Linked DNA regions of Homo sapiens: regions 1, 2, 3, 4, 5 and 6 are each linked to region 7. The links are contacts of gene promoters, found by promoter capture Hi-C in blood cells and fetal thymus (Javierre and others, 2016). All regions are on one chromosome and are shown on one strand. The core of a region is centred on a gene start or on the middle of the fragment in contact, and the rest is flanking DNA. Distances in the headings are between cores, read along the strand shown.

What was found. Contacts are between HindIII fragments. The CHiCAGO score rates a contact against its expected background, and 5 or more counts as called.
Region 1: a fragment that was not itself captured here is called in contact with the fragment with the promoter of SECISBP2L in region 7 in 1 of 17 cell types (total B cells); the score reaches 6.0 in total B cells.
Region 2: a contact is called between the fragment with the promoter of AP4E1 here and the fragment with the promoter of SECISBP2L in region 7, in 4 of 17 cell types (total B cells, naive CD8 T cells, fetal thymus and 1 more). The highest score is 8.8, in total B cells.
Region 3: a contact is called between a fragment that was not itself captured here and the fragment with the promoter of SECISBP2L in region 7, in 1 of 17 cell types (total B cells). The highest score is 7.9, in total B cells.
Region 4: a fragment that was not itself captured here is called in contact with the fragment with the promoter of SECISBP2L in region 7 in 7 of 17 cell types (naive CD8 T cells, total CD8 T cells, total CD4 T cells and 4 more); the score reaches 10.8 in naive CD8 T cells.
Region 5: a contact is called between a fragment that was not itself captured here and the fragment with the promoter of SECISBP2L in region 7, in 1 of 17 cell types (total CD4 T cells). The highest score is 5.2, in total CD4 T cells.
Region 6: a contact is called between a fragment that was not itself captured here and the fragment with the promoter of SECISBP2L in region 7, in 5 of 17 cell types (naive CD8 T cells, total CD8 T cells, non-activated CD4 T cells and 2 more). The highest score is 9.8, in naive CD8 T cells.

What each region holds. Positions count from the first base shown.
Region 1 is chr15:50,329,977-50,333,272 of GRCh38, forward strand. The region is part of intron 1 of GABPB1 (GA binding protein transcription factor subunit beta 1); the gene reads right to left. Among named protein-coding and RNA genes, the nearest start is that of GABPB1-AS1, 23 kb to the right of the region's middle. The HindIII fragment of the contact is 5,779 bases long and covers 1-3,296 here.
Region 2 is chr15:50,906,622-50,910,021 of GRCh38, forward strand. AP4E1 (adaptor related protein complex 4 subunit epsilon 1) reads left to right here and starts at 2,062. Exons shown (of 21, transcript NM_007347.5): 1 at 2,062-2,307. The coding sequence starts at 2,158. RefSeq lists enhancers at 1,655-2,396, 1,871-2,160, 2,181-2,350, 2,397-3,138. The HindIII fragment of the contact is 3,809 bases long and covers 1-2,462 here.
Region 3 is chr15:50,759,961-50,763,174 of GRCh38, forward strand. The region is part of intron 1 of SPPL2A (signal peptide peptidase like 2A); the gene reads right to left. Among named protein-coding and RNA genes, the nearest start is that of SPPL2A, 4.1 kb to the right of the region's middle. The HindIII fragment of the contact is 5,841 bases long and covers 1-3,214 here.
Region 4 is chr15:50,425,743-50,428,831 of GRCh38, forward strand. All of the region lies in intron 1 of USP8 (ubiquitin specific peptidase 8), which reads left to right. Among named protein-coding and RNA genes, the nearest start is that of USP8, 2.9 kb to the left of the region's middle. The HindIII fragment of the contact is 4,576 bases long and covers 1-3,089 here.
Region 5 is chr15:50,874,331-50,877,600 of GRCh38, forward strand. No RefSeq gene overlaps it. Among named protein-coding and RNA genes, the nearest start is that of AP4E1, 33 kb to the right of the region's middle. The HindIII fragment of the contact is 5,142 bases long and covers 1-3,270 here.
Region 6 is chr15:50,357,774-50,361,202 of GRCh38, forward strand. It overlaps GABPB1-AS1 (GABPB1 antisense RNA 1), which reads left to right. Exons shown (of 1, transcript NR_024490.1): 1 at 1-539. MIR4712 (microRNA 4712) reads left to right here and starts at 2,556; the gene lies at 2,556-2,637. The HindIII fragment of the contact is 6,184 bases long and covers 1-3,429 here.
Region 7 is chr15:49,045,191-49,048,235 of GRCh38, forward strand. SECISBP2L (SECIS binding protein 2 like) reads right to left here and starts at 1,256. Exons shown (of 18, transcript NM_001193489.2): 1 at 1,086-1,256. The coding sequence starts at 1,109. RefSeq lists enhancers at 713-852, 1,143-1,492, 1,593-1,722. The HindIII fragment of the contact is 1,178 bases long and covers 462-1,639 here.

The sequences.
Region 1 (3,296 bases), core at 740-3,239, 1.3 Mb after region 7:
GCTCACTGCAGCCTCGACCTCTCAGATTCAGGTGATCCTCCCACCTCAGCCTCCGAAGTAGCTGGGACTACAGGCACGCATCACCACACCTGACTAATTCTAATTTTTGGAGAGACGAGGTTTTGACATGTTGCCCAGGCTGGTCTCAAACTCCGGGGCTCAAGCAATCCTCCCACCTCAGCCTCCCAAAGTGCAGGGATTACAGGCATGAGTCACCATGCCCAGCCACCATTCCCTACTTCTCACACCAAAGGAACATACTAAACACACATTGTTCTGTACTTTGCTTTTTTTCCCATTTAATATATATCCTGGAAAATACTGCATAGAGATTTTTCTCATTCTGTTTTACAGCTGCATAGTACTCGGCTATGTGAAAATACCATTGTATACTTTTAATTAAAAAAAAACTAGTTATCTCTTACTCTAGCAATCACAAGATCTCACCTTGCAATTTGAGTCCCTCTATCAACTGCCTCACACATTTACTTCATCCATTTTTCTCTGAATATAGGGCCCTGACAGTCATCCGATTTTAAACAATTCTCCTTCCTCATCTCATACACACTTACCTTATTCCAGACCCAATTCTCCTTCCTCATCCCATACACACTTACCTTATTCCAGACCCAATGTCTCCCCTCATGCTATTTTCCCAGTTTAGAATGGTTACATCCTTTCTCTCCAAATGCTATACTTCAATCAAAGCCCATTTTTAAAAGATCTTTTCTCCAACAAAACTTTCTAAGATGAGCTCTTAAATTTCCTCAGCAATATATAGCATAATCTCTATGTTTCTCTTCATTCAACAAACAAATGTTTACTGAGTAAATGAAGAGCAAAGAGCTTATGTTCTGGGATAAGAACTTCACAATAAAGAAGTAAATAAGTAGTAGTAGTAGTGGTGGTTGTGGCAGTGATAAACGGTATGAAGAAAAAGTAAGGCAGAGTAAGAAACAGAGTACTAGATTAGGGATAGGGAATTGCCATTTTGGAGAAAGTGATTACAAAAGGCCTCTCTGAGGAGGTGACAACTGAGTAGAAACAGGAATGAAAGGGAAAGCAAACCTAGGGAGGATCCAAAGGAAGCATCATGATGCACAAGTCATTCTCTTGGTTGCTTAGCATCAAAACACCTTCTTGTCCTTGGGGAATTCCCTTCCATATGCATCTTGAAAGAAGGCAGAAACCTCTGCCTACTACTGAATATTTGCTTTCCTTGCTTCCCATAAGGCAAGGGTACAGTCATATGACCTCCACTCCACAAGAGAAGCATCTGTGCTGGACCTTAATGTAGAAGATAGTGCATTTAAAAAGCCGAGAGTGTGTAGAACCCTTAGTGGCAAACGTGGCAGCAGATTCCAATAACAGTAGTGGTAGCAGCTTCCTCCTGTGATAAATTCCTTTTCTGTTAAATTAACCAGAGATTATTTGACTACTTAGAACTAAGAATTCTGGCTGACCCTGGTGATCCAGGGAAATGGAACAGCATATGTTAAGCGCCCTGAGCTACAGTGAAGAAGTATAACAGGAAATGCAATCATAGAAATACAAATGGGCTGGATCACATAGAACCTTATAGGCACTAGAAAGAGTGAATTTTATTGAGATTACTAGCAAGTTGTCAGAAAGTTTTAAACAGGAGAGTGTTGTGATGTGATTTACATTGTTAAGAGGCTACTCCTGTTATCATTTGGTTAATACATAGTGGAAAGCAAGAACTGAAACAAGCGTACTAGTTAGAAAATTATTCCAGGCAAGAGCTGCTGGCACCTCAGGCCTGGATGATACCTGTGTGGTTATTAGACAATTTACCTTTAATTGCTATATATTTAAGTTAAATCTAACATCATATTTTATGCTTTCCATTTGTCCCGTTCAGTTTTTTTTTTTGTTTTTTGTTTTTTGTTTTTTTTGAAATAGAGTCTCGCTCTGTCGCCCAGGCTGGAGTGCAGTTGCATGATCTCTGCTCACTGCAACCTCCACCTCCTGGGTTCAAGCGATTCTCCCGTCTCAGTCTCCCAAGTAGCTGGGATTACAGGCATGCACCATCACACTCTGCTGATTTTTGTATTTTTAGTAGAGACGGGGTTTCACCATGTTGATCATGCTGGTCTCGAACTCCTGACCTCAAGCAATCCACCTGCCTCGGCCTCCCAAAGTGCTGAGATTATAGGTATGAGCCACCGTGCCCAGCCCCCTGTCCAGTTTCTTTTCTCTCCTTTGTTGTTGCTGCCTTCTTTCCCCTCAATTCTTTTTAGCATTCTATTTATTTCCTCTACTGATTTGGAAGTTATACCCTCTGTTTCTGTTCTTTTGTTGGTTTTCTAGAAATTATACCATGCAGTAAAGTCTAATCAAAATCTTTATTCTCTCTTTTCCCAAAAAATCTATAGATTTTAAAAGACATAAGCAACACATCAACAAAATGCAATATGTAGACCCTGTTTGGATTCCAGTTTGAAGAAACCAAATATAATTTTTTAAATCTTTTTTTAGATAATTGGGAAAATGTGAATACTAACTACATAATGCTAAGAAATTATTGATTTTTTTCTGTATATGATACTGGTATTATACTTTAAGCCCATATCTTTTATAAGAACAATATATTTATGGGTTAAATAATGTGATTGTTAGGACTTACTTTAAAATACTTGGGATATATATAAAAACACTTTAGTCATGAATTCATAACTGTTGAAGGTGGGTAATAAATACATAAGGATTCATTATACTCTTCTCTTTTACATATTTAAAATTTTCCATAAGAGGTTTTTTTTAAATTACTATCCTTCTAGGTAAGACAAGGACCTTAAATCCTAGACTCTACCTATCCTACTTGTTATACCCTTGTTTTTAATCCATTAGACATTTTTACTATGTTTAATGCAATCCATATTCATTTTCATTCTCTAAATATGTATCATTTTCTTTACCTTTAATTTACTCTTCATACATTTCATTTTGTGATTTGAGATCAATTTCATCCTGTCCTAAGTATATCCTTTAAAAACATACTGTCCAATATGGTGCATGTGGATATTTAATAAAAATTAAGTTTATTGGCTTAATAACTTATTAATAACTTAATAACTTATTAAGCCAATAAACTTAAAAATTCAGTTTATTGAATTTTCAAGTACTCAATAGCCCTATGTAGCTTATGACTACAATATTGGACAGCACAGAAAAAGAACATTTCCAGGCCAAACATGGTGGCTCACACCTACAATCCCAGCAGTCTGTAGGACTGAGGTGGGAGAATCACTTGAGCACAGGAGTTTGAGCCTGAG
Region 2 (3,400 bases), core at 812-3,311, 1.9 Mb after region 7:
CGGGAGGCTGAGGCAGGAGAATTGCTTGAACCCAGGGGGAGGAGGCTGCAGTGAACCCAGATTGTGCCACTGCATTCCAGTCTGGGTGATAGAGCGAGACTCTGAAAAAAAAAAAATTAAATGAATAAATGAGTATCCCTTTTAGATAAAGTTTAAATATTTTAAAATGTTCTCAATATATTAAAAAATATTCTTGCGAGACAAGCCAACAAATTGAACTTTTTTCTTATGTTCCCATATAGGTATTAAAACAACTTCAGGATTTCAAAAAAACTCATTTATTAGGTGACAAGGAGGTTACAGAGATTAGAGCAGGTATAACCGAAGATAGCTTGTAAGTGTAGCTGTAGCTGGTGGGCCGGTTGAGGTTCTGGACTTCGCGGTGCAAAATAATTTTGAAGTCCAAAGTAAAAGCAAGCAAAAGAGTTTATTGCAAAGCGAAAGTACACCCTCACAGCTGATCAGAGCGGGCTGCTCAAAGGTGAGACAGCATGCACTGACACTGGGGAAACTCCCTTTGTAGGAGTCTCACAGGATCATTCATGAAGCGGGGAGAACGGGTGCTGCTATTAAGCACGTTCTCTGGTTTTCTGTCGCCATGTGCGCTGTGGTTGTATATGCTAGTACATACACTGCATGTCTTATTAGTATCTTAAATCTTCACCCAGGAGTGGTGTTTTTTTTTTTTTTTTTTTTTTACTATTATAATGAGTATAATTCAGCCCAACGACACTGATCATGGGTTTCTGCGCTTGTGAGAGTTTGGGGATTTTCCCTTCTGCTCTCGTACCTCTTTGCTGCAAAATTTTCTAACCAGGAGCCTCGGATGTGGTTTGTACACTATGGGCTGGTTTGTTCTATTTATTTAGCAAGTTTGTTCCCCTTGAAGGGAGGCTATCACCACCTACCTAACCTACCTCCTAGAAACACACTAGGAGTACTGAGAGCAAATTGCATTAATCTCTGAAAACGCACGTATTTATGCCCTAAACCTACTACCTTAGAAAATTCTAGAAAACACAAGGATACTCCAGGATACATTTTACCAGCTAGTCAATCGTCATCTAGCCGCTTGAAAACTCTGTACATTTCCAACAGAATGAGGGTAAAAACGGCAAATAACACGTAAGAAACGTTATCAATGTTGTTTTGACTTTGTGAATTCCCTAGAAGGGTCTCAGCGACCCTGAGGTCACCAGACCACATTTCGAGAGCCATTGTACCAGACTCTGTTCTAGATAAAAGACGGAGCAATCGGAATGAATAAAATACTCTCTCTATGGGGAGCTGTTTACGTAGTGGCAACTGCGACCTGTTCTAAAGTGGAACAGAACCGAGCGCTGTGAGAGGGTGGGACTTGGAGACCTATCCTTGCCCGCCGGGCCAGGGGAGTGGGCTCTAGAAGGATGACCTTTCAACTGCGACCTGCTGAGGAGGAGTCGGCAAGGGTGGCCGCCGACCAGTTCTCTTTCCCGCCCACCTCCCCAAATCCCAGGAGAAGAGGGGCGGACGGGAAGCGACAGTGGCCGCGAGTCCCCGGCACGCGACGGGCTCTCAACCTGGCACGCCGAATCCTCAGGACAGCCCCGCTATCACGCAACTACTCGGGTGTCCCAAGAGTCGCCAGGGCCGGAGCCGCGCGCGGCGCCGGGGACCCGCGTGAAACCGCCTGTGGGAAGCGGGCGGGTGGCGCGCGCTCCGGGGACAGTGAGAGGCGGCGGACGGCGCGGGGACGTCCCGAAAAAGGCGCAGCCAGGAAGACGCAACTCCTGACGCGGTCTCGGGCTACGCGGAGGCGGCTAGTGGGAAAGGGGGACTCTGGGAGACAGTGCCTAACAGGGCCAGGCCCCCGACGGCTTCCTCAGGAGGACTCACGGTTCTGGGGGATTCCGGAACCGCTACCCCGTCGCGAGAAAGGAGGTCTACTTACGCGCGCAATCTCGAGCGAGCGGCCTTTTCCACCCCCGCGGTCTCTTGCGCCCTCTGGTGGCCTCTCGCGAGAACGACGCTGAACTTGTTCAGGTGGGACGCCAATAAAGATTTCTTATTCAAAAAACAGGAAGTGCCTACGGAGGCCGGGCCGGCAGCGGCGGCCGGGCATGAAGCCGGGCGGCTACGGGATCGCGGGCGGCGGCGGCATCGCGGGCGGCGGCGGCGATGAGCGACATAGTGGAGAAGACGCTGACGGCGCTGCCGGGACTCTTTCTGCAGAACCAGCCCGGTGGTGGGCCCGCGGCCGCCAAGGCGTCCTTCTCCTCGAGGCTGGGCAGCCTTGTCCGCGGCATCACAGCCCTCACCTCCAAGCACGTAGGTGCCCGCCGGCCCGGGAGCTCAGGGACATCGGAGTGAGGCCCCCGCGCCAGGAGGCCCTGGCCGGGCGGCGAGACTTCAGGGCCTCTGGGGTTAGCCCTCCGGCGGGGCTCAGGGGCTGCTGTGTCGGTTCGTCCTTTCGTCTGCCTGGAAGCTTCACTTTCCTGCTGGGACTGACAGCAGGGAAGCCGAGTTTCCACAGTTAGTTCTGACACTGACTCTTTGATCGGGGGCACATCTCTGTAACCTCTGAGCCTCCGTGTGTTTTCTCAACGTTGTGGTGGAAAAGTACTGATACATAATTCATAGGTTTTTTGTTTGTTTTGAGGATTGGGTGAGATGTCAAGCGTGTGAAAATACCTAGTGCGATGGAAGTGTCAGACATTATTTACCTTCCACAAAGTTTTTTTTCCCTACTCAGTTTCCTTCTCTCCCCCGGTGCCTTCAACTGAACAACAGTTCAGATGTCGCATACCTGAAGAGATCCTGTGAGCCTCTTGTTGAATATCTTTGGGGAGCTTGAGGTTCTTGGGTTACAACAACGTGTTGGGCAAAGAAAAAGCACAGTTCTCTCAAAATGTAAAATTTGCTAAGTCTCTGCCTCAAGTGGGCTTTGAAAATGAGCAGTTATAAAAATTCTTAAACTTTTAAAATTTTTAAATTTTTATTGACGGAGTCTCTCTCTGTCGCCCAGGCTGGAGTGCAATGGTGCGATCTCGATCTCGGCTCGCTGGAGCCTTAAGGTTTTAAAAATTTTAATTTTTGTTTTTTTTTGAGACGGAGTCTCGCTCTGTCGCGCAGGCTGGAGTGCAGTGGCGCGATCTGGGCTCACTACAAGCTCCGCCTTCCGGGTTCACGCCATTCTCCTGCCTCAGCTTCCCGAGTAGCTGGGACTACAAGTGCCCGCCACTGCCTGGCTAATTTTTTGTACTTTTCGTAGAGACGGGGTTTCACCGTGTTAGCGAGGATGGTCTCGATCTCCTGACCTCGCGATCCGCCCGCCTTGGCGTCCCAAAGTGTTGGGATTACGTGCGTGAGCTACCCTGCCCGGCCTTAAAATTTTTAAATTTTTAATGACGGAGTCTCGCTC
Region 3 (3,214 bases), core at 442-2,941, 1.7 Mb after region 7:
AGCCAATGGGTTGTAGAAATCACAGACAGTTCAGAGGCAAGGTAAAACAAAAATTGTGAAGAACCTGAAAGTTAAAAGGAGGAAATGTAATAAACCTAGCATGTTTTAGTCAGCTCAGGCTTCATAACAAAGTACCACAAACTGGGTGGTTTAAACAACAGAAATTTATTTTCTCACAGTTCTGGATCAGGTGCCAGTTGGGCCAGTATCTAGTGAAGGCTCTCTTCCTGGCTTATAGATAGCTACCTTCTCACTGTGTCCTCACATGGCAAAGAGAGAGAGAAAGCTCTCTGATGTCTTTTTTTTTTTTTATTTCCCCCAAGACAGTCTTGCTCTGTCGCCCAGGCTGGAGTGCAAAGGCACGATCTTGGCTCACTGCAACCTCTGCCTCCTGGGTTCCAGTGATTCTCCTGCCTCAGCCTCCCATGTAGCTGGGGTTACAGGCACCCACCACCGTGCCCAGCTAATTTGTGTATTTTTAGTAGAGACGGGGTTTCATCATGTTGGCCAGGCTGGTTTCGAACTCCTGACCTCAGGATCTGCCTGCCTCAGCCTCCCAAAGTGCTGGGATTACAAGTATGAGCCACCACACCTGGCCTGATGTCTTTTCTTAAAATGGCACTAATCCTATCATGAGGGTCCCGTCTTCATGAGCTCATCTAAACCTAATGATTTCCTGAAGGACCCATCTCCAAATATCAATACACTGGGGGTTATGGCTTCACCATATGAATTTGGGGTGGGGCTGTTGGGGGTGTGGGGGACACAATTCATTCCACAGCACAGCAGCTCAGCAGATTTCTTACTGCCTGGGTAGCAGAACATACCTACTTTCCCTTGGAGGTTGAGAGAACAGAGCAGAAGAGAAAGAATTGAAGAATCTTTGAGTTGGTGTAGTATACAAAAGGAAGGCAAATTTTCAGCAACAGATTTTTCTGCTGGGGATCCTGATTATCATTTCATTGTATCAAGCTCAAGATGCAGCTATATGCTACTTCAAATTCTTTGAAGAAAAAAAAATCAACAAAACTATTTTTTCATTTGTGTGTGTGTGTGTGTGTGTTTTTAGAGACATGGTCTTCTCTGTCACCCAGGCTGGAGTACAGTGGCGTGATCATAGCTAACTGCAACCTCAAACTCTTGAGCTTAAGTGGTCCTCCTACCTCAGCCTCCCACGTAGCTGGGACTAGAGACACAAGCCACCATGCTCAGCTAATTTTTTAATTTTTTGTAGAGGTGGGGTCTTGCTATGTTGACCAGGCTGGTCTGAAACTCCTAGCCTCAAGCAATCCTCCAAAACAGAACTTTTAAAGACACTATGAGGAAGACTCAGGATTCTTCAAAGAACTTTGAAGCAATTTAAAAAGACAGAGCTGCCGGGCACGGTGGCTCACACCTGCAACCCCACACTTTGGGAGGATGAGGCAGGCAGATCACCTGAGGTCAGTAGTTCGAGAGTAGCCTGACCAATGTGGAGAAACCCCCGTCTCTACTAAAAATACAAAATTAGCTGGGCGTGGTGGTGCATGCTTGTAATCCCAGCCACTGGGGAGGCTGAGGCAGGAGAATTGCTTGTACCCGGGAAGCAGAGGTTGTGATGAGCTGGGATCGCACCATTGCACTTCAGCCTGGGCAACAAGAGTGAAACTCCATCTCAAAAAATAATAATAATAAATAAAATAAAAAGAGCCAGGGCCAAGAGCGGTGGCTCACGCCTGTAATCCTAGCACTTTGGGAGGCCGAGGTGGGTGGATTGCCTGAGCTCAGGAGTTCAAGACCAGCCTGGGCAACACAGTGAAACCCCGTTTCTTCTAAAATACAAAAAATTAGCCGGGCATCACGACGTGCACCTGTAATCCTACTCGGGAGACTGAGGCAGGAGAATTGCTAGAACCCAGGAGGCAGAGGTTGCAGTGAGCCGAGATAAGGCCACTGCAATCCAGCCTAGGCTACAGAGCAAGACTCCATCTCAACAAAAAAAAAAAGAGAGCCAGCATAAACAATATCCATTGTCTTTGAAACAGAATCCCATGACTGCGTCCACACTGAGAAATAAAGTTCTGACCATTGTGACCCAGGGTCGAGGTTGAACTGGGGAAGGAGAGGTGCAAAATGTAATTATGGCAGCCAGGCATGGTGACTCATGTCTGTAATCCCAGCACTTTGGGAGGCCAAGGCAGGAAGATCACCTGAGGTCAGGAGTTCGAGACCAGCCTGGGCAACATGGTGAAACCCCATCTCTACTAAAATTACAAAAATTAGCCAGGTGTGGTGGCAGGCACCTGTAATCCCAGGTACTTGGGAGGCTGAGGCAGGAGAATCACTTGAACCCAGGAGGTGGAGGCTGCAGTGAGCTGAGATCGCACCACTGCACTCCAGCCTGGACGACAGAGCAAGACTCCATCTCAAAAAAAAAAAAAAACAAAAACCCAAAAAATAAAATGTACTTATGGCAAGGTCAAGACACAGCTAACTACCTGCTAGGCGCTCATTTAATTTCTAGACCTAATGGGTTTAAAAAATATTAAAACAGCCAGATGTGCTGTAGCTTCAGTTCAAAATACACAGTGAGGTCACTCTGATGTGAAGATGACAAGATGAGGAGGGTAGGCAAATGATCTTTAAGGGCCTTTCCAATACTAAATCCTCTGCCTCTTCTAGATGGATGTGCCAGTGGTTTCTGAAGACTACGTGCTGCTTCCATTATAGATGAGGATGTTGGCCCTGTTATTACATGACTAAGGGGAAGCAGTGCCAGTTTCTTTTTTTCTTTTCTTTTTTTTTTTTTTTGAGATGGAGTCTCGCTCTGTCACACAGGCTGGAGTGCAGTGGCACGATCTTGGCTTACTGCAACCTCTGCCTCCCGGGTTCAAGCAATTCTTCCGCCTCAGCCTCCCAAGTAGCTGGGATAACAGGCACGCACCACCACGCCCGGCTAATTTTTTTTTTTTTGTATTTTTTTTTAGTAGAGACGGGGTTTCACCATATTGGCCAGGCTGGTCTCAAACTCCTGACCTTGTGATCCACCCACCTGGACCTCTCAAAGTGCTGGGATGACAGGCGTGAGCCACCACGCCCGGACAAGTAGTGCCAGTTTCAAGAGCCCAGAGAGGAGAAATGAAATGATTGAGCTGGCATCACTAATCAAAGGAACTCAGAAAGGCTACCTAGAGCTGTAAAATTAGGGAAGAGGAATAAACAAAGGGCTTCAGGG
Region 4 (3,089 bases), core at 250-2,749, 1.4 Mb after region 7:
ACAAAAATGTTTTAAAGGTGCCTTTTTTAGCATTTCGTTTTTTAATATATTTACTTGGACTTTAATCTTTATGGGCATTTGTTTATTAATGTGGACGTGGCTGGGCGCAGTGGCTCACATCTGTAATCCTAGCACTTTGGGAGGCGGAGGTGGGCGGATCACTGAGGTCAGGAGTTCGAGATCAGCCTGGCCAACATGGCGAAACCCGGTCTCTACTAAAAATACAAAATTAGCTGGGCGTGGTGGTGCACGCCTGTAGTCCCAGCTACTCTGGAGGCTGAGGCAGGAGAATCGCTTGAACCTGGAAAGCGAAGGTTGCAGTGAGCCGAGATTGCGTCATTGCACTCCAGCCTGGGTGACAAGAGCAAAACTCCGTCTCAAAAAATAAAAAATAAAAAGCGTGGACATAATGGAAAATAATCAAAATGACTTTTGGGTAAGACAGTTGGAAAATAAAGCCAGTACATTAAATTTTTTTCATAAGTCTAGCACTATATTACGAACTTTTCTCCATGAAAATGCACTCATATTTATGGAAGTGAAAGGAAAAAAATGTCTTCAGGTATGTGTTGCTAATAAAATTAGATATAATTAAGGAAACATTTAAAAAATACCTTGTTGTTGTCCCAGTTACCTATTGCTGCATAACAAATCACTCCAAAACATAGTGACTTAAAACTGTAATTTAGTATCTCTCCTGTTTCTCTGGCCTGCCTGGACTTAGCTAAGTGGTTTTCACCTAGAGTTTAATGCGTTTGTATTCAGATAAGCAGCTGAGTTTGGAGTCAACCGAGAGCTCAGCTGGTCTGGACATCCAAAATGGCTAATTCACGTGAAGGCGTTTGATGTTGGCTAGGAGTTCAGCTGGAAATGTCAACTGGAATGCCCACACATAGCCTCTTCACGTGACTTGAACAGTATGGCGGCTAGGTTCCGAGAATACATGTTTGAGGAGTCAGGAAGTAGAAGCTGCCAGTCTCCCAAAAAGCCTGAGCCCAGAAATTCGCACAACATTACTTCCAACATACTCTGTTGGTTAGAGCAAAGACCAGCGTACAACCCTCACCTTTGAAAGGAAAAATGTCAAAGAATTTGTGGCCGTGCTTTGCCTACTATAATTTTGATGACAAAGTTGTATTGGACTCTTGTTTGCATTTATATAGCAGATGAAGAATCAGGTACACTTCCAATTTCCAGTTTCTTTCTTTCTTCTTCTTCTTTTTTTTTTTTTGAGATGGAGTCTTGCTCTGTTGTCAGCCTGGAGTGCAGTGTACGATCTCAGCTCACTGCAACCTCTGCCTCCTGGGTTCACGCCATTCTCCTGCCTCAGCCTCCCGAGTAGCATGTCACCAAGCCCAGCTAATTTTTGTATTTTTAGTAGAGATGGGGTTTCACCATGTTGGCCAGGATGATCTTGATCTCTTGACCTGTGATCCACCTGCCTCAACCTCCGAAAGTGCTGGAATTACAGGCGTGAGCCACCGCGCCTGACCCATTTCCAATTTCTTTAACCGTAATACTTTATGTTGTAATGGCATATTACAGTTTTCAAAGCATGTTTTTGTATATTTTTTCACTTGATACCTATGGTCACCCTATAGAAGCAGACAAATAGTTCCTATTTCATTTTGCAGATGAAAGTAAACTGAAGAGTGGTGGTGGTATTGGGAGTGATTTACGGAATTTGTTCAAAGTCATATGATTAATAAATGGAAAGTAAGGCCTGCAACAGTTCCATAATATTAAATTTATTAGTACTGAATGATGAAATATTATATTAAACTTATTTGGAATTCTACATTTATAGCCGTACTAATTTTTTTTTTTTTTTTTTTTTTGAGACGGAGTCTTGCTCTGTCTTCTAGGCTGGAGTGCAGTGGTGAGTTCTCGGCTCACTGAAATGTCCGCCTCCTGGGTTTAAGCAATTCTGCTTCAGCCTCCCGAGTAGCTGGGACTATAGGCACCTGCCACCATGCCCGGCTAATTTTTGTATTTTAGTAGAGATGGGGTTTTGCCATGTTGGCCAGGCTGGTCTTGAACTCCTGACCTCAGGTGATCTGCCCGCCTCAGCCTCCCAAAGTGCTGGGATTATAGCCGTGAGCCACCATACCTGGCCCTTTTTTTTTTTAAACTGAGACAAGGTCTTGCTCTGTCACCCAGGCTGGAGTGCAGTGGCATGACCTTGGCTCACTGTAACCTCTGCTTCCTGGGCTCAAGTGATCCTCCTGCCTCAGCCTCCCAAGTAGCTAGGACTGCAGGCACACGCCAGCACACCTGACTAATACCATACTAATTCAAGTAAAACAGTTCTCATGTATAGTGAATAAGGGTTAACTAAGCCTTGTCTCTTTTGACTAACACATTACAATTTAGTTTTTTGTTTGTTTGTTTTTGAGAGGGAGTCTTGCTCTGTCACCTAGGCTGGATGCAGTGGCATGATCTCGGCTCACTGCACCCTCCGTCTGATGGGTTCAAGCAATTCTCCTGCCTCAGCCTCCCAAGTAGCTGGGATCACAGGCATATGCCGCCACGCCCAGCTAATTTTTTGTGTTTTAGTAGAGATGGGGTTTCACTGTGTTGCCCAGGCTGGTCACGAACTCCTGAGCTCAGGCAATCCACCTGCCTCGGCCTCCCAAAGTGCTGGGATTACAGGCGTTAGCTACCACGCCGGGCCTACAATTTAGTTTTTAATAATGCAGCAGTCTTCCTCTTATCTGCAGGGGATATGTTTCAAGACCTCCAATGAATGCCTGAAACCACAGATAGTACTGAACCCTATATATACTATGTTTTCCCTATATATACATTTTTATGATAAAGTTTAACTTATAAATTAGTAACAAGAGATTAACAACAATAACTAATAATAAAATAGAATAATTACAACAATATAGTGTAATAAAAGTTATGCCCTGTGGCCATAACTTGTGCAACTTGAGGTGTGACAGCAAAACTAGCACAAATTTCTTTTTCCTTCATAATTTTGCAGATAAAAGATCTTACCATAGATCTTAGCAACCTCAGCATGAGGTTTTTGGTTTTTTTTCTTATTAGGTTGAGAACTTTCACCTTTTTGCTTAAAGGAAGCA
Region 5 (3,270 bases), core at 626-3,125, 1.8 Mb after region 7:
CTCTCACTTACTTATGAAAAACAACAGTTCAGTTCCTCACGCAAAGTGTGCACAGACAAGCCAATTGAGATTAATTTTGAGAGAAAAGGCAATGGAGAAAGATCCTTTTGAATGCACTTCTGAAACTAAAATTAAGATTTTAACCAACTTCCTAGGAGAAAAGACAGAGAGGAAAAAATCAGCTTAGAATAAATCAAGGACCATCAACCAAAACAGGAGGTTGGGGCTCAGGAGAACTTCCCAGTTCCACCGAAGGAGAAGCTCGAATTCGGTGAGGCTTCAATGGGCTCCTGCTGGTACCTTAGCTCCAGTTTTGGGCAACTCCTTCAGGGTCCTGAGTCTTCTCCGAGGCCCAATGTTGGGCACCAGATTATTGTCGGTGAAAAGAGTCAAACCCTGTAAAATATTTGAAGAGATTTATTCTGAGCCATATATAAGTTACCATGGCCTATAACACAGCCCTTAGGAGGTCCTGAGAACATATGACCCAGGTGGTCGGGGTACAGCTCGGTTTTATATATTTTAGGGAGGCATGAGACATCAATCAAATACATTTAAGAAATACATTGGTTTGGTTCCGAAAGGTGGGACACCTCAAAGCGGGGGTTTCCAGGCTATAAGTAAATTTAAACATTTTCTGGTTGACAATTGGTTGAGTTCACCTGAAGACCTGGGGTTAATGCAAAGGAATGTTCAAGTTAAGAAAAAGGATCATAGAGGCTGTGGCGTGGTGGCTTGCGCCTGTAATCCCAGCACTTTGGGAGGCTGAGGTGGGCGGATCACCTGAGGTCGGGAGTTTGCAACCAGCCTGACCAACATGGAGAAACCCCATCTCTACTAAAAATACAAAATTAGCCAGGTGTGGTGGCACATGCCTGTAATCCCAGCTACTCGGGAGGCTGAGGCAGGAGAATCGCTTGAACCCAGGAGGTGGAGGTTGCGGTCAGCTGAGATCGTGCCATTGCACTCCAGCCTGGGCAACAAGAGTGAAACTCTGTCTCAAAAAAAAAAAAAAAAAAGAAAAGAAAAAGGATCATAGAGACCAGGTTTTATTATGCAGAGTGCAGAGGAATCTCTCAGATAGCAGAGTTCAGAGAGAAAGCAGGTTGTAAAATGTTTCTTATCAGACCTAAAAGGGTGCCTGGCTCTTAGTTGATTATCTCCAGGATCTGGAAAGAAAAGGAAAACAAAAGGGAAATGTGGATTTTTCCCACAAGACACTTTGCAGGGCAATTTCAAGGTATGGCAAGGAAATATATTTTGGGGTTAAATATTTTTTCCTTGTCTCATAGTGTTATGCCAGAGTTAGAATGAAAAGTGTGTCACGATATATAGGGTCAAATAAAACCCATTTGATGAGAATTTATGGTTTGTAGTGCATGACTTCCTAGACTCCTTAGGTAGGAATTTGGGCAAAATAAAAAAATCAGAGCTCAGTCTTCAGTTTGATCAATAGTTCTTTTTATAATAAAATTGTAAAGATTATTTCTAAATGCTAGTTTTTATTTTTATAAAGAAACGTATGCTACTATGTACTTTGAAAAAAACACCTGGACTGGGTGCGGTGGCTCAATCCTGTAATCCCAGCACTTTGGAAGGCCGAGGCAGGTGGATCACAAGGTCAAGAGATCAAGACCATCCTGGTCAACATGGTAAAACCCTGTCTCTACTAAAAATACAAAAATTAGCTGGGCGTGGTGGTGTGTGCCTGTAGTCCCAGCTACTCGGGAGGCTGAGGCAGGAGAATCACTTGAACCTGGGTGGCAGAGGTTGCAGTGAGCCAAGATCGCATCACTGCACTCCAGCCTGGGCGACACCGTCTCAAAAAAATAAAAAATAAAAATAAAAAAGAAAAAAACATCTGGAGTCATATACACATAATGTTACAGCAATTATCAAGGAAAGAATACCTATTTGTATGGATTTTTATCTGATCTGATACAGAAGTTTCCAAATGTTCTTGAAACTTGTGAGGGTGTTTTCTTTCATAAAACCGTAAACTTGGTCTCCTTTAAAAATTCCACCTGGAGAGCTACTGATTAACTTGTAAACTTACTGTCCCTTGATACATTTTAAGTGTGTTTCAGTAATGGGATCATAAAAAATTTGCCCTTAGGCCGGGCGCGGTGGTTCACGCCTGTAATCCTAGCACTTTGGGAGGCTGAGGCGGGTGGATCACCTCACGTCAGGAGTTCGAGGCCAACCTGACTAACATGGTGAAAGCACTTCTCTACTAAAAATACAAAAATTAGCCCGGCATGGTGGTACACGCCTGTAATCCCAGCTACTCGGGAGGCTGAGACATGAGAATAGCTCGAAGCTGGGAAGCAGAGGTTGATCGCGCCATTGCACTCCAACCTGGGCGACAGAGCAAGACTTCGTCTCAAAACAAAACAAAACAAAACAAAACAAAACAAAAAAAAAAAGAAGGAAATTTGCCCTTGTGCCCCTTCTTATGAATTCTGATGGATGAGGGAGAACGAAGAGAGGAAAGAGTAAGATAAAAAAAAAAGCCACAAGATGGAGGATAAAAATATTACGGTTATTCTTTTAACTTATCCAGGAACAGAATGAGTAGCATTTTCAGTGTAATGCCCTCACGGTGTATTTCAGAATACTCAGCACCTCCTAACCATTTTACATCTAGAAAGCTCCCAAAAAAAGGCTAATTTGGTTTACTGCCACTTTGGGACGATTCTGGTTCTGGGTGGATTCTGGTTCTGGGACGGAGTTGTTTTCCTTGTCTGTCCCCTCTGGATGCAGTTACGTAGCCATCTAGTGACTGAGTTGGGAATTGCAGCTTCCTTTCGGATTGGGGAAATCTGCCAATTCACCCTGCCTCATCGCAGATGTGGAATGAAAGAAATTCGGTTGGCAAACCTCCTACTAACGGAGAATACCTTAGTGAACCACTTTGCAAGTCCGTCTCCTACATCCTTGTGCAGGCATCTCTTGTGCAGAGCCTTACATTCTTAGATTACCTCACAGGGATACCAAGAGCATAAGATGAAGTTACATAAACCAGAACACAAAAATGTATTTTTAAAAATTACTGTTGTTTTTGTTAGAAAACCCTTTGGAATAGGTCGTTAAAGAGCCTTGTTAAGTGCAAGTCTGTCACAAAATCAGAGATGTTAAAGAAGGCAAGAGGTAAAATGAAAGGAAATTCATGGGGTTGTTATACTTTCATTCATTTATTAACGATATCATTCACTGAGTTTCTACTTGGAGTAGGGTGCTGGGGAAACAAAGATGGATAACACATAAGGG
Region 6 (3,429 bases), core at 281-2,780, 1.3 Mb after region 7:
GTTGATCAGAGATGGCCTCACTGAGAAGGTATTAGAAAGGACAAGAACAGTGTGAGACCAAAGGGAATAGCTGGGCAAAGGCCCTAAGGTGAAAAATTTGTTGTGTTTAGGGAATAGCAAGGTCAGTGTATCCGAAATCTAGTGACCAAAAGAAGGAATGATAGGAGGTGAAGTCTTCAGCCTCAATAAGAAGGTGAAGTGCACTGGAAGCCATTGAAGGATTTAAGAAATGGAGTATCTGGCCGGGCGCGGTGGCTCACGCCTGTAATCCCAGCACTTTGGGAGGCCGAGGTGGGAGGATCAAGAGGTCAGGAGATGGAGACCATCCTGGCTAACATGGTGAAACCCCGTCTCTATTCAAAATAAAAAATTTTTTTAAAAATTAGCCAGGCGTGGTGGCGGGCGCCTGTAGTCCCAGCTACTCGGGAGGCTGAGGCAGGATAATGGCGTGAACCCAGGAGGCAGGGCTTGCAGTGAGCCGAGATCGTGCCACTGCACTCCAGCCTGGGCGACAGAGCGAGACTCCGTCTCAAAAAAAAAAAAAAAAAAAAAAGAAATGGAGTATCATGGACTAGGATAGTAGCAGTAGAGATGAGGGAAGTGGATGGATCCAAAAAGCTGACCTATCTTGCTTACCAATTAAATGAGGAAAGGGAGGAATCAATAGTGATGCCTAGGTTTGGGGCATGTTGTCTAGGTGGAATTAATTTTAATTACACTTTTAACCCCTAGCATATCCAAATATTATTTCACATGTGATCAACATAAAAAATTACTAAATATTAAAAATATTTTACATTATCTTTCTCATAACTAAGCATTTGAAATCTGGTGTGTATTTTATACTTATAGCATATCTCAGTACTTGATTTCATAAAATTTCCAGCTGAAAAAATAGATTCACGTACCCAAGTCGTTCCAAGCATACTTAAAAGTTTTACGGTAATCGAATCGTGTATATTTTTAAATTTTATTTTAAATTAAAGTTAGGATTATGAATTCAGTTCCTAAATTAGCCTCATTTCACTTCTGCATTTCAAGTGGGACAAGTTATTACCATATTGGACAATGCAGTCTAGTGAAGTAGAGGATAGTGGAAAGTCAGACTTAAAAAGTTGTTTAGAACCAGCTCTGGAAGGCCTTGGATGTCAGATTAAAGGACTGAGATTTTACCCTTGAGTCAGGCAGAATAATGGATGGTTTTTGAACTAAGGAGTGACACAAGGTTGTGCTTATGACTAGAAGGAGGCCACTAGGTGGCCAGCTGGTGAGTCAGGACACCCTTCAGTTGCTTTGACTTCAGCCCTGTGGATTCAAAGTCTGATTTTTGTCAGCGCTCTAGAGCAGTCTCACCAAAAGTGTGGTCCACAAGGCAGTGCCAGTCTGTAAGCCCTTTGTTACACATCCATGTCAAGGCATTTACAGAAAGTAAGAATTTAGAAACTTATAGCAGTTTAACAGACTAATTTTATTTCTGTGGGTCTAATAAAAATTTGAGGGATTGTACTTTGCATATTCTTTATTTCCCTTTTTTTGTTTGTTTTTTGTGTTCGAGATGGGAGTCTTTTTCTGTCGCCAGGCTGGAGTGCAGTGGTGCAGTCTCGGCTCACTGCAACCTCTGCCTCCTGGGTTCAAGCGATTCTCCTGCCTCAGCCTCCCAAATAGCTGGGATTACAGGTGTGCACCACCACATCCAGCTAATTTTTGTATTTTCAGTAGAGACGGGGTTTCACCATGTTGGCCAGGATGGTCTTCATTGCCTGACCTTGTGATCCGCCTGCCTCAGCCTCCCAAAGTGCTGGGATTACAGGCGTAAGCCACCGTGCCCGGCCCTTTTTTCCTTTTTAGTTTATTTTTTTCTTTTTTGAGACAGAGTTTCGCTCTTATTGCCCAGGCTGGAGTGCAATGGTGCGATCTTGGCTCACCGCAACCTCTGCCTCCTGAGTTGAAGCGATACTCCTACCTCAGCCTCCCAAGTAGCTGGGATTACAAGCATGCACCACCATACCCTGCTAATTTTGTATTTTTAGTAGAGACGGGTTTCTCCATGTTGGTCAGGCTGGTCTCGAACTCCCAACCTCAGGTGATCTACCTGCCTTGGCCTCCCAAAGCGCTGGGATTACAGGTGTGAGCCACTGCACCCGGCCGTTTTTTTCTTTTTCTAATAATTTTTATCATATTACATAAAAGTACCTATGGTCTCACAGATGAAGGGAGTCAGAAGAACCAAACTCCCAGAAGACATATAAATCTAAATGCCTTTTTTACTTTAGAGTGAAAACTGTAATAGCTAAATTATAATGGACATCTGCTCATTTTCTCCCTCCATGTAGACATGGAAAGCTACACGGAAATAACCGAGTTTATAGTAGCTACCATATATTAAACGTTTCCTGTATGCCAGCCACTGTGCAAAGCATATTATATATATTGTCTCATTTAATCCTCACAACTCTGTAAAATAAGTATTGTTTGCCCCATTTTTCCAATGAAGAAACCGAGGCTAAAATAGGTTGAATAACTTACCTAAATTCACCATCCTCAAAGGTGTTAAAGACAGGATTCCAGTACAGGTCTCTCATTTCCTTCATGATTAGGAATACTACTTTGAAATGAGAGACCTGTACTGTATCTGTTAATTCCAAATTCCCTGGCATAAAGACTCAGTACATTGTTTAAAGAGAATGCATGAAGTTAACTGCATTACCTTTTGGAGGGTTCATTTGTGAATTTGGGGCCAAAGTAAGGGGAGTTACTGGTATTCTAATAGCATCAAACAAATGAATTCATTTCATCTTTTGGGGAGGTGGAGGGAATAAGGTCTCACCTTGTCGCCCATGCAGGCTGGAAGGCCGTGATGTGATCTCAGCTCACTGCAGCCTCAACCTGGGCTCAAGCGATCCTCCCACCTCAGCCTCCTGAGTAGCTGGGACTACAGGTGCACACCACCACGCCCAGCTCATTTTTGTATGTTTTGTAGAGACTGTGTTTTGCCACGTTGCCCAGGCTATTCTCAAACTCCTGAGCTCAAGTGATCCTCCCACCTCAGCCTCCCAAAGTGCTGGGATTACAGATGTAATCCACCACACCCAGCCAAATGCATTCATGTCTACAATAGAAATACATCTCTTTGCTGCTATCTTGAATTTGTAGACTCCCACAAATCAATAAAAAAGAAGACATCCAATAAAAAAATGGGTAGAGGCCAGGCAGTGGCTAACACCTGTAATCCAAGCACTTTAGGAGGCCCAGGCAGGCAGATCACTTGAGGTCAGAAGTTCAAGACCAGCCTGGCCAACATGACAAAACCCTGTCTCTACTAAAAATATAAAAATTAGCCAGACGTAGTGGCACGTACCTGTAATCACAACTACTCGGGAGGCTGAGACAGGAGAATTGCTTGAACCCAGGAGGCAGAAGTTGCAGTGA
Region 7 (3,045 bases), core at 6-2,505:
AAAAGTCTTCTGTAAAAACAAGTATACACAACTAGGAAGCTGTGCTTTGCCTGCTAAGAGTCCGATTTCAAAATACAAACCGGCTTCAACTACATATAGACACATACAGGAATTTGGGAAATCTTATCTCATTAATTCAGGTGCTAATTATCCAACTGTAAAATTAATAGGCAGAAATTACTAGCCTCTCTTCTTCCGTCATCTAGTCATCAATGGGCAAGGCCTTCGAAGAAGGGAATAGAGAGTGAATAAACTTGGACTTCAAATTAAGTCGTTTCGCAGAGATCTTAAGAGTGGAAAATACTGGGGGGGAAACTATTGTTTTCGATTACTTTTAACACTGTTATCATCCCTGCCTGCTACCACCTACTAGCATGCATAATCAGGAATTTGATGCAAATAAAAATAAAACAGAACACTAATAGGACTACTTTGCGAATATGAAAACGGGTTCGAAAATAAGCTTATGCTTTACACCCTTAAAATAGAGCTAGCTTTAAAAAAAAACCCACTAATTACAATTCTTTGCAAAATAACTGGATAAAAGGACAAGGGGAAATCGTAGTATCGTTTCTTAAAAGAAACACCTCCGTAAAACCACTGCAAAAACAATGCTTCGCTCCATTGAACACAGACCTAAAAGGCCCGTGACTTCCCTTCATCTGTAGTTACCACACATTCTCTTACAGTCTTTCTGGGTGAGAAGCCTTCAAACGCCTTTCCACCTTGAAAACACATTCCAGAGCTGAAGGGAATGGGGGAAGCGGGGAGACTACTAGAAGTTATAAGCCCTCCTCCCAGGAGAGCAGGGACAACTTGGAGCCTTCTGACCCCTTCACCAAGCAGGGGAGAAGCGGCAACGGCGAGCCCTCCGCCTGGGAAGTAATCAGGGTTGGAAAAGCCCCCAAGTCCCAGGCAGCAGCTGGAACAATGAAGGAGAGCTGGGAGCTGCCAGGCTCCCAGGTGAGGGGGTCTGCGGCCGCAGGACCGGCCCCCGGTCCCCACGTTCGGAGAACTGGGCCTGGCCTGTGAGGAAGCGGCGACCCCAACCCCCGGCTCGGCGGGCCCAGCCCAAACCCGCGTACCTGCTCCGTGGGGGCTCGGTCCATGGTGCCTGCAGCCGCAACGGGCCCGCGCTAGTCGGTGTAAACAGCGCCTCGGGCCGCTTTCTCCATGGCCCCCCGCTCGGGTCCAGACTGGGTTCCGGACCTCCGCCCCTATCTGGCTGGCCGCGACACCGATTCGGCTACGCCACTGGCCGAGGAGGCGGCTCCAGCTCCGGGAGATGGAGGAGGCGGTGGCAGCTTCGGGGAGGGATCATCTGGGACGGAAGCCGAGGAGGGCCCGAATGGGCTGGAGGCGTAGTTAGAAATGGAGGCGCACGGAAGGAAAAGGAGTGGGGAGGAGGCAGAGAGGGGCAGTGGGCGGAGTGACAGCAAATGGCCTCAGCAAGGGTAGGAGGAACCCGGCCTGGCCTGGAGGCTAAGGCCAGGTGGAGGCGCCCAGGAGCAGGTGCCCCGAACCACACGCCACCCCTGCGACTGTTAAACGAGAAGTGTCAGACCACTTGGGACCCAGGTCTCCCGGGACTTCAAAGACCTCTTCAGGATCTGAAACCACCTCTTAGTGATGTTGGAAAAGCTTTCATCTGCCCACCGTACATCTGCTCCTTCCTTATGTTACGCAAATAAAGGGAGTCATGACTATAAAGGAATGAGAATATTCTGAAAATAATGGAGTCTTGCCCTAGAAAAATGCATATGTAAAACGCATACACAGAATGACTGGAAGAGGCCCGCTAGGAAGCTCCCCACAAATATTTATTGAGAGTTAATTCATTATCCAGGTTCATGCCCACTTCTAGGCTCACATCCAGGCTGACCTCGCCCATCTCAGAAATCCTAATTTTATGCAGGATCTGTATAACACCACCCAACGGGTAATTATTTTATCTTCAGATCCTTAGCTCCTTAAGGGCAGAGACTGTCTTGAAACTGGGCACTACCGTTAGCATGGCAAATTTCTTCTGGGCATCTCCTCAGACACACCCTCCAACACCCACACCCTCTGTGAAGATTCAACCAACTGCGGATAGAAATATTTTGAGGAAAAAAGAAATATCAAGTACAACAATAAAATACAAGTAATACAGTTTAACAACTGCTTATACAGCATTTACATTGTATTAGGTATTATAAGTAATCTAGAGATGATTTAAAGTATATCGGAGGATATGCATGGATTGTATGCAAATACTACACCATTTTATATAAGGATCTTTAGCACTCATGGATTTTGGTATCAGCAGGGATCCTGGAGCCAATATCCCCCCTGGGATACTTAGGGACAACTGTATAAGCTAAATTACACTTAAGTGAAGGTAGAGTTGAGGTGGCTGCTGTTTGGGGCACTGGTGTGGAGATCCACAGCTAGGAATGGGAAAGAGATTTTAAGAAATTTGCTTTGTCATGCTTCAGGAGATATCAGTAAAGACTAATTGCCTTTTCAGTTAGTCTAGGTTATTAGTCTGGTTATTAGACTCCAATATGAGGCTTGTTATGTGAAGGCCCCTTGCTGTACTTATGTTGATACAGGTTGGGTATCTCTAATGGAAACTATGAAATTCCAAACCCTCTTGAATCCCAAATGTTCCAAAATTAGAAACTTTCTGAGCACAGACATGACATTTAAGGATAATGTTCGCTGGAACATTTCAGATTTTGGACTTCCAGTTTAGAGATGCTCAACCAGTAAGTATAATGCAAATCTTCCAAAATCCAAAATCTGAAACACTTATGGTTTCAAGTATGTCAAAATAAGGGACATTCAACCTGTATTATATATTGGCCTGCTGAAAGGAGCTATATTGTGTCAGCAAGACTTATATCAAGGCTGGCAATAGAAACATCTTGAAAGGAGAAACATTTATATTTACACATTTATATTTACATTTAAATATATTTATTTAATTTTAGTAAATTTTCTGCCACCTCAAATTTAATATCAATGCATGTGTATTTGAACTGCAAATTTATGTAACATTTG